Linked DNA regions of Homo sapiens: regions 2 and 3 are each linked to region 1. Evidence: promoter capture Hi-C in 16 types of primary human blood cells and fetal thymus (Javierre and others, 2016). All regions are on one chromosome and are shown on one strand. The core of a region is centred on a gene start or on the middle of the fragment in contact, and the rest is flanking DNA. Distances in the headings are between cores, read along the strand shown. Region 1 holds the start of NEXMIF (neurite extension and migration factor). Region 2 overlaps ABCB7 (ATP binding cassette subfamily B member 7). Region 3 overlaps ABCB7 (ATP binding cassette subfamily B member 7).

The links. The method cuts DNA at HindIII sites, captures the fragments that hold promoters and counts their contacts. A CHiCAGO score of 5 or more calls a contact.
Region 2: a fragment that was not itself captured here is called in contact with the fragment with the promoter of NEXMIF in region 1 in 1 of 17 cell types (naive CD4 T cells); the score reaches 5.6 in naive CD4 T cells.
Region 3: a contact is called between a fragment that was not itself captured here and the fragment with the promoter of NEXMIF in region 1, in 1 of 17 cell types (naive CD4 T cells). The highest score is 5.7, in naive CD4 T cells.

The regions. Positions count from the first base shown.
Region 1 is chrX:74,924,086-74,926,837 of GRCh38, forward strand. It overlaps NEXMIF (neurite extension and migration factor), which reads right to left and starts at 1,367. Exons shown (of 4, transcript NM_001008537.3): 1 at 798-1,367. RefSeq lists a silencer at 246-405. The HindIII fragment of the contact is 8,655 bases long and covers 1-2,752 here.
Region 2 is chrX:75,096,792-75,099,491 of GRCh38, forward strand. It overlaps ABCB7 (ATP binding cassette subfamily B member 7), which reads right to left. Exons shown (of 16, transcript NM_001271696.3): 4 at 2,151-2,270. Among named protein-coding and RNA genes, the nearest start is that of ABCB7, 58 kb to the right of the region's middle. The HindIII fragment of the contact is 1,129 bases long and covers 688-1,816 here.
Region 3 is chrX:75,147,366-75,150,302 of GRCh38, forward strand. The region is part of intron 1 of ABCB7 (ATP binding cassette subfamily B member 7); the gene reads right to left. Among named protein-coding and RNA genes, the nearest start is that of ABCB7, 7.4 kb to the right of the region's middle. The HindIII fragment of the contact is 780 bases long and covers 897-1,676 here.

The DNA.
Region 1 (2,752 bases), core at 117-2,616:
AGCGGAACGGCGCCAACTCAGCAGCGCGGTTTCCACACTTTCCCGGAGCGGGACTCCGCTCCCCGCGCCGGCTCACGGCCTTCCCGCCCTACAGGGTGTACAAGACGCGAGCCGACGTGTGCTGCGGGGCGCGGCAGAGAGAAGCGCCAGAAGCCACACAGAAAAGCGTCAATTCGACCGCCACCGAGAGCGCGAAGGGGCCACAAGCCAATTTCCGCAAAGGAGATGAGCTGGGCGAGGCTCGGTCTGGCCTCCAACTTAAACCTGTCCGCAGCCTCGGCCGAGTGGCGCGTGTCCTGGGGGCGCTCTGTGGTCGCCACGGCCGCCCGGCTTCGCACCTTTGCGGCTTTGGTCCGAGCGCCCGGCCTCGGCCGCCGCGTGGGTTTTCCCGCTCTCGCCGAAGCGTGCCATGCCCATGCCCCATTCCCTGGCCAGGCTCTACCCTGCACCAGTCCGAAAGGAGGCGGCACTCTGCCGAGCTGCGTGCGTGTAAGCGCGGCGGCTCCGGTCCGCTCGCTTCCCCTCCCCCCGCAACCCCCTTCCTACGGCGCAAGCACAGAGGCCTTTCCTAGATTGCAGTGCCTGTCAGGGCGAGCCGGGATCTCTCGCCCTAGCGGCCTCGCTCCCTCATACACAGACACACACATTCGCATACAGACGTCCTCCGTTCCGTTTTCCCTTCCTTCTCGTCTAGCTCGACTTACCCCAGTTCATTCCACCCCCTGCGGCCGCCACCCCGAGCCAGCCGGGGAGCCGGCGAGAAGGCCAGGAAGCTGTATGGCAGCGCTCCTACTCACCTCACAGGCCGACTCCCGAGGCGCACGTCGCTGGCGGGCTCAGGCAGCAGGCGCTGTAGCTAGCGCGGTCGCAGTCAAGGCTGGGCTGTCGCCGTCGCCGCAGCTGTTCGAGCTGCCTTAGCCGCCACCGCCGCTGCTACTGCTGCCGCCGCCGCCGCCGCCTCTGCCTCAGCTCCATACGCTGGGCCCGCCAGGTGGACGCGCCTCTCTCCTCGCTCGCTCCCTCAGGCTCCGCCGCCGCCGCGCTAGATGGAGTCAGAGCTGTCGGGCTCTGGCCCTGAAACTCAGAGCCTCCGCGGCTGCCCGGCTGCTCCAAGGGTCCGTGCTTCGCTTACACTGTCGCTCGCCCCGGCTGGAGCTACCTAGCGAGCGGGCTGCGCGCTCGGCGCCTGGAGCCCGCTCTGTGCGGTGGCTGCGGCCGTCCGCGAGAGGGAGAGAGGAGGGCGGCTGCTACTGTCGCTATAGCTGTTAAAGCTATTGCTAAATGCTGCTACTGCCGCTAATGCTACTGCTGTGGCGGCGGTGGTGGCGGCGGCGGCTGCTGCTGCTGCTGCTGATGCTACTGGTTTTCCTTCCCAGGTTCTTCCCCTGCCTCGTCCCCCCTCCTCCCCCTTCCTCCTCCTCCTCCTACTCCTCCTCCTCCTTCTCTTCCTCCTCCCTCTTCTCCTCCCTCTGCCGCTTTTCTCAGAGCCTCTGCAGGCACTGCCTGGTCCCCTCTTCTCCCGGAGCTGTCTCTGCCCATTCAGAAAGGTGCCCAGAGTGGGGCCGCCTCTGCTGCCACCATCGCTGTTGCCCCTGCCATTGTTTCCTCCAACACGGCTGTTCTTGCTGGACGCCTTCCCCCCTCTACCCTTCTTCCCCACCACAGCTCTCCCTTTCCCTCCCGCTCTCCTTACCCTCTCTATGGTCCCTTCCTTATGTGCCCCCCCAACTCTGTCCGTCTGTCCTTCCCTCCCCTCGGGCGCCCGGGAGCGCGCACTGCGCGGCCACCTGTCATAAAGGGCGCGCACCCCCCTTCCCCATTCCCACCCCGCCCCCCACTCGCGTTCCTGCTGCCCTTCCAGTCCACTACGCCAGTGGTGCGTTCTTCCCCTGGCAGACACGCAACCGGACACCACTCTCCCATGCCTTTTAGGGCAGTTGTGTGTGCGGAGAGGGGCACTCTGAAGTTTGGGGAAGAATATTTGAATGGTTTCATCCACCAAGCATCTAACCATTCAACCTTTACCTACTCTTAACTTAAGGGCCTGGGCCCCCAGGAAGGTGGGTCCTTTTTGAAGGGTTGGATGAAGGCAGACAATTGGGGAGTGACGTTTGGGGAATAAAGGAAAGAAGGGAAGCTGAATATGGCCAGGAAGGAAAACAGATCTGCCTGATGGCTGTCATTGAAAAATCTCTTAGGTGGTCATTTTCCTTCAGACGTCCTGGGAACTCAACAGGAAACAGCAAAACGATTGGAGAGCAACTCAGGAGGGACCATTTAGTACTTCTGGAGTCCTGGGTGCAAGGTTGAGGCCTGAGCCTCGGGAGATTTGTCACCACTAGGAGCCAAGGCAAGAGATGAAAAGGTTGGTACTAGAACAGAAGGGGTAAAAGTAGCTACTTTGTGTGCACTTGCTCCAACATCATTGCCAAAGCACAGCTTCTCCAGTCAGGCAGGGCCTCATTTCAGATTTCTTTGCTGCCACAGCTACAGCGTCATTTTGCTACGAGGGCTCAGGCTTTGAGATCTGATGTGTGCAACTTCTCACCATCACCTGTCACACAATCCCTCCCCAGAAACAGTGCAGAGGCGGGGGTATATTTTCTTTTCCCTGGCAAAGTACAGGAGATAAATGTTCCAGATATCCCATTGACAATAAGGTCTGGGTCACTTTACCAAGTTTGAGGCGCTCTACCATGGGTCTTTCATTCCTGGACAATAAACTGTCTGTATGGCTTTTACAACTCCCCAT
Region 2 (2,700 bases), core at 2-2,501, 170 kb after region 1:
TTTTTTAACTTCTAACAGTTGACCCATTGCTAAGTATTGTTGACTCTATCTCCCCTACTGCACAGTATCTCTTGTATTTTCCTCCATGTTGCAATTTCTACTACTATTTCAGTACAAATTGCTATTACTTCTTATCTAGACTATCATATGAGCCTTATAACTGGTCAGTAAACATTTGCTGAATGAATGTGTGAAATAAATGGTATCCCTACTTTAGGTCTATCACCACTTGAATTCATCTTTTACACATGGCCAGATTAATTTCCTAAAACACAGTTCTAACCTTATTACTCATCTATTCAAAATACAGGTTCCCACTTCCCACATAATTAAATACATTTTTCTGTCTCACAGTCACAATATTTCACATTTACGAGCTCTAATCTGTCTTTCCAAGCTTATTTCCGAATTCTCTGAAACATCTTCCCCTCGCTGGAACCAGGATAGACTACTCACTTCTGTACACATACTATGCTCTCTCACAACTAGGCCATTTTTCATGTTATTCCTACACCTGTAATAATCCTACTCATCAATCAAGGTCTATCTCAGATGTCATCTCCTCTGTGAAACCTTTCCTAACTCCCCATGATGGTGGTTCCTAACTTTCTTCTGAAACCCCACAACACCCGACTGGCACTTCTTTAAATCATTTATGACCTACCTTTTATTAGGGCAATAAAATAAAGCTTGCCTTATCCCATATGGTTTGAGGAAAGAAATTTGCTTTGTTCATATCTGAACACTCTGCAATGCCAAGAACAGTAGTGTGTATAAGTTCTCAATTAATATTTTTAGGGTAGGGAAAAGAATAAGCAAATAAAGGAGAGTATACATAATATAGGGAAAAAATAAGTGGTAAGAACTGGGTTCTAAAATAAAATCTTAATCCTTATATATAAGAGTGGTAGCCAAATCATAGCCAAACCTCCTTTATGCTCATTTTAAGCAAACACTTTTTACCATTATTTTTGGAAATCTAAATTTATTTATTTTTAATACTTGTATTTTACTACCTGCCAGGCACTGTTATAAGTCCTTTGTATGTTAACTTATTTAATCTTTATAGCAACCCTATTTTACAAATGGACAAACTGAGGCACACAGACTAAACAACTTGCTTAAGGTTACAAGGTGGCAAAGCCCAAGCAGTCTGATTTCAGAGACTTCATCATGACAATATAGTATACCTACAAACGTGTACTTCCCTGACTTTAAAATCTGAGTAAATTGGGGGCTGGGTGCGGTGGCTCATGCCTGTAATCCCAGCACTTTGGGAGGTCGAGGCGGGTGGATCACCTGGGGTCAGGAGTTAGAGACCAGCCTGGTCAACATGGTGAAACCCCATCTCTACTAAAAATACAAAAATTAGCTGGGCATGGTGGCGCACGCCTATAATCCCAGCTACTCGGGAGGCTGAGGCAGGAGAATTGCTTGAACCCGGGAGGCAGAGATTGCAGTGAGCCAAGATTGTGCCACTGTACTCCAGTCTGGGCAACAGAGTGAGACTCTGTATCAAAAAAAAAAAAAAGAAAAAAAAATCTGAGTAAATTTGAAACAAGGTTTTTATTTTCTTGAAAACTCGAGGTCATCATTATAACTTTGCCTTATATAGTACAATGACAAACTGAGAAGGCTGCTGAAATGCAGAGGGCTCCTATACTGAACGTACCAAAACAGTCAGGTTTTGTGGCTTTTGTTTTGTTTTGTTTTTTTAGCTTTTCTCTTGATATTAAGCTGTTGCTTATTACTTATGGCTATCAGTGTTCCTAAAATGGCTTCATCCTCTTTTCAATTTACTGGGATCTGGGAACCAAGCTTACCAAAAATATGTATTATTTCGGAGCCAAAGAGGCTCCGAAAAGCTTCTTTTACAAAGGTGCTTATGCTTTGTTACAATCAATGCTCCTATATCTCACAACGGTTTCAAGGAGTGAATTCCACTAATTCTGTGAGAAGTCTGATCCAGAGATAAACAGGACATTACCATATAATTTCTAATGACTGCATAAAATAATTATGTAAACTAAATGAGGGTCCTAAAAGTTGGTCATGCTACCCCAAAAGTGATTTACACCAGGCCCAGGATTCATAACTAGAAAATGTAGTATTTCTTAGTTAGAGCAACCAAACAATGCATAATTTCTTACCTTTGCACCACCCAAAAATCCCAGCGAAATGGCAACTCTAGCTCGTAGATCTGGCCTGTCTTTGGGCCACACATAAGAAAGCATTGCTTTTATGATTTTCCGAGTATCAACATCTTTTAACTATTGAAAGAGAGAAAACAAAGCAGTGAATAACATGTCATTTCAAACATAACCATAATTCAATAACGTAGAATTTATATATTTGAGAAATACATGAAAACATTACAAATATAACTTTTATTCTGAATCTAAGGCTAATATCTTTCAAAATCAAAATATTTTAGAGAAAAATTATTTCAATTACTTTAAAAAAGTTATTCATTTCTCTTAAATGTCTTACTTTCAATTTTAGCCACTCTCATATTGTTAAAAAAGTAATTTAGTGGTCATGAAGGGACATGTACTATACATTTATTTATTAAGCTACCAAAACACTACAGAAAATTCAAAAAAAATTTCCATATTTCCATTTTTGTAGTAGAAAATTTATATACATTTTGGCTATTTGTCAGTTTTTTATTTAAAACACTTTGGAGTCCCAAGTCTAAAC
Region 3 (2,937 bases), core at 37-2,536, 220 kb after region 1:
ATGCGTATGTTCATTGCAGTACCATTCACAATAGCAAACACATGGAATCAACCTAAATGCCTATCAATGACAGACTAGATAAAGAAAATGTGGTACAAATATATCATGGAATACTATGCAGCCATAAAAAAGAACAAAATCACGTCCTTTGCAGTGACATGGCTGGAGCTGGAGGCCATTATCCTTAGCAAATTAACACAGGAACAGAAAACTAAGTACTACATGTTCTCACTTACAAGTAGGAGCTAAATGATGAGAACACATAGACACATACAAGGAAACAACACACACTGGGGCCTATCAGAGGGTGGAAGGTGGAAGAAGGGAGAGGATCAGAAAAAATAACTAATGGCTACTAGGCTTAATACCTGGGTGATAAAATAATTTGTACAACAAACCTCCATGACATAAGTTTACCTATGTAACAAACCTGCACATGTACTCCTGAACTTAAAATAAAAGTTACAAGGCCAGGCGTGGTGGCTCAGGCCTGTAATCCCAGCACTTTGGAAGGCCGAGGTGGGCGGATCACCTGAGGTCAGGAGTTCGAGACTAGCCTGGCCAACATGGCGAAACCCTATCTCTACTAAAAATACAAAAATTAGCCAGGTGTGGTGGTGTGCGCCTGTAATCCCAGCTACTTGGGAGGCTGAGGCAGGAGAATCGCTTGAACCTGGGAGGCAGAGGTGGCAGTGAGCCAAGATTGTGCCACTGCATTCCAACCTGGGTGACAGAGCACAACTCCATCGCAAAAAAATAAAAAATAAAAAATAAACAAATAAAATAAAAGTTACAGAGATGATAAAATGCATTACTACTAGCAGACAAAACAAATTGGACTTCAAATAAATGAACATAATATAACCTACTCAAAAAGGTCAGTTCATCAATTGAAAAGCTTAAACATGAAATATTTTTCTCATTGTAAAAACAAGTACAGTATATCAAACTATGTCTGTGTATCCATAATAGCAAATTAAATTTTTTTTGTTTGTTTTTTAGCATCCCAAACCCCCCCCCAACCCCCGAGGTAACCACTTTTACCAGACTGGAGTATATCTTTCCAATTTTCTATGTATTTGCATATACATACACACACATACAAACACATACACACATTGTTATGGTCTGAACTGTGTACTCCCCACCCCCACAAATTTATATGTTGAAGTCCTAACCTCTAATACTTCAGAATGTGACTATATTTGGAAACAGGGCCCTTAAAGAGGTAATTAAAGTTCAATGAGGTCATTAAGGTGGGCCTTAATCCAATATGACCAGTATACTTCTAAGAAGAGGATATCAGGACACAGACACAAACAGTGGAAAAGACAGTGTGAAGACAGAGGTATAAGATGGCCATCTACATGCCAAGGAGAGAGACCTCAGAAGAAATCAACTCTACTGACACCTTCATCTTGGACTTCATGGGTTCCAGAACTGTGAGAAAATACATTTCTGTTGTATAAGCCACCCAATCTGTGGTGTTATGGCAAACGTAGCAGGCAAGCACACATGTACATGCACAGTTATTAAGTCACTACAGTCAGAGTAGTTGAAGAAAGAGTTCATACTTAGCAAACATTCATGCACTCAAAAATATGAATATATTACAATATTATAGTATAAGTTACTCAAGATCAGTAAAAACAATTTTATAAGTAAACCAAAATCGAAGCTTCACCTTGTCTTTTTCTAATATGCTTTGAAAAGCAGAAGTTTAAAAGTTGCTCTCCCAAAACATCAGCACCTAAGGAACTATACCCTTAGGATGCGGTTTCCCTACTTTAATATCCATCCCTCTCTAGATATTGTAAAGAAAACTTAATCAGAGGACTAATGAACATCCCAAAATACAGTGTGCAGTTAAAATTTCTACAAACAGCAAATTTTTATATCTTATTCCTCAAAGAATGTTATCCTGTAAGTCACTTTATCTTAGCAAATGATGCTCACAAATAAAGTAACTCAAAAATTTTAGGATAAAAAGTAAGTGTGCTTTGGTTATTGAACTAAAACTGACAACAATCAGTGATGCTACTCCACCACGGTACCATATGCCTAATGACAGAAATGCAACGGACAAACTTATGAGGTTGCCCTGAAGAAAGTTAGCTTTCAATTCCAAATGTATAGCAGTGGAGCAAATATTATTAATTATTATGTTAGATTTTTGCTTTGGTTTGGTTATAGAGTTTAATCATTCATTTTACATATATTTTCTGATTACCTATTACATGTAACATACCGTGCCTAGCTCTGTGGAAGATAAAAACAAAAAGATGATTGGAATATATTAGCATTTTAGGCACATAAAATCTTATCTCCTCCACAAGATACATAACTACTTGTAGGAAAAAGTGTTGTAGGAGTTCAGAGGAGGGAGAAATCAAAGTCTTATTAGCTTATAAGGAATGGTTTCAGGGAACGGACTGACCTTTGAACTAACATTTGAAAAATAGGCACCAGTTAGAGAGAGGGCATTTCAGACATAGGGTGTGGCATAAAAAAAAGAACAGACACAAAAAAGCACATGGTCCAAGGAACAGGGAACAATATAGGGTGACTGGAGGGACAGGGTATTTGTAGAGAAACAGTTTACAATATGGCTAGCAATCTAGTTAGGTGGAAATTTTTAAGGCTAAGATATAAAGCCCACTGAAGTTTATGCAGGGAAGTGATGGGATAAAAGTCATGCCTTAGGAAGAATAATCTAGATGTGCTGTATAGGATGGATTGAAAGGGCAAGTCCCTGAAAGCAGGGACAAAACCCATGCATAAAGTAATAAGGGTCTAAAACTAGGGCAGAAGTTAAGGGACTGAAAAGGACAGAAGAGGCCATTGCTACTACAAAGAAATGTTCATCTACCTAACCGGATTACTGTGAAGACCAAATGACATTAAATAAAGACTTGAAAAGTATCTTTACTCACTAGT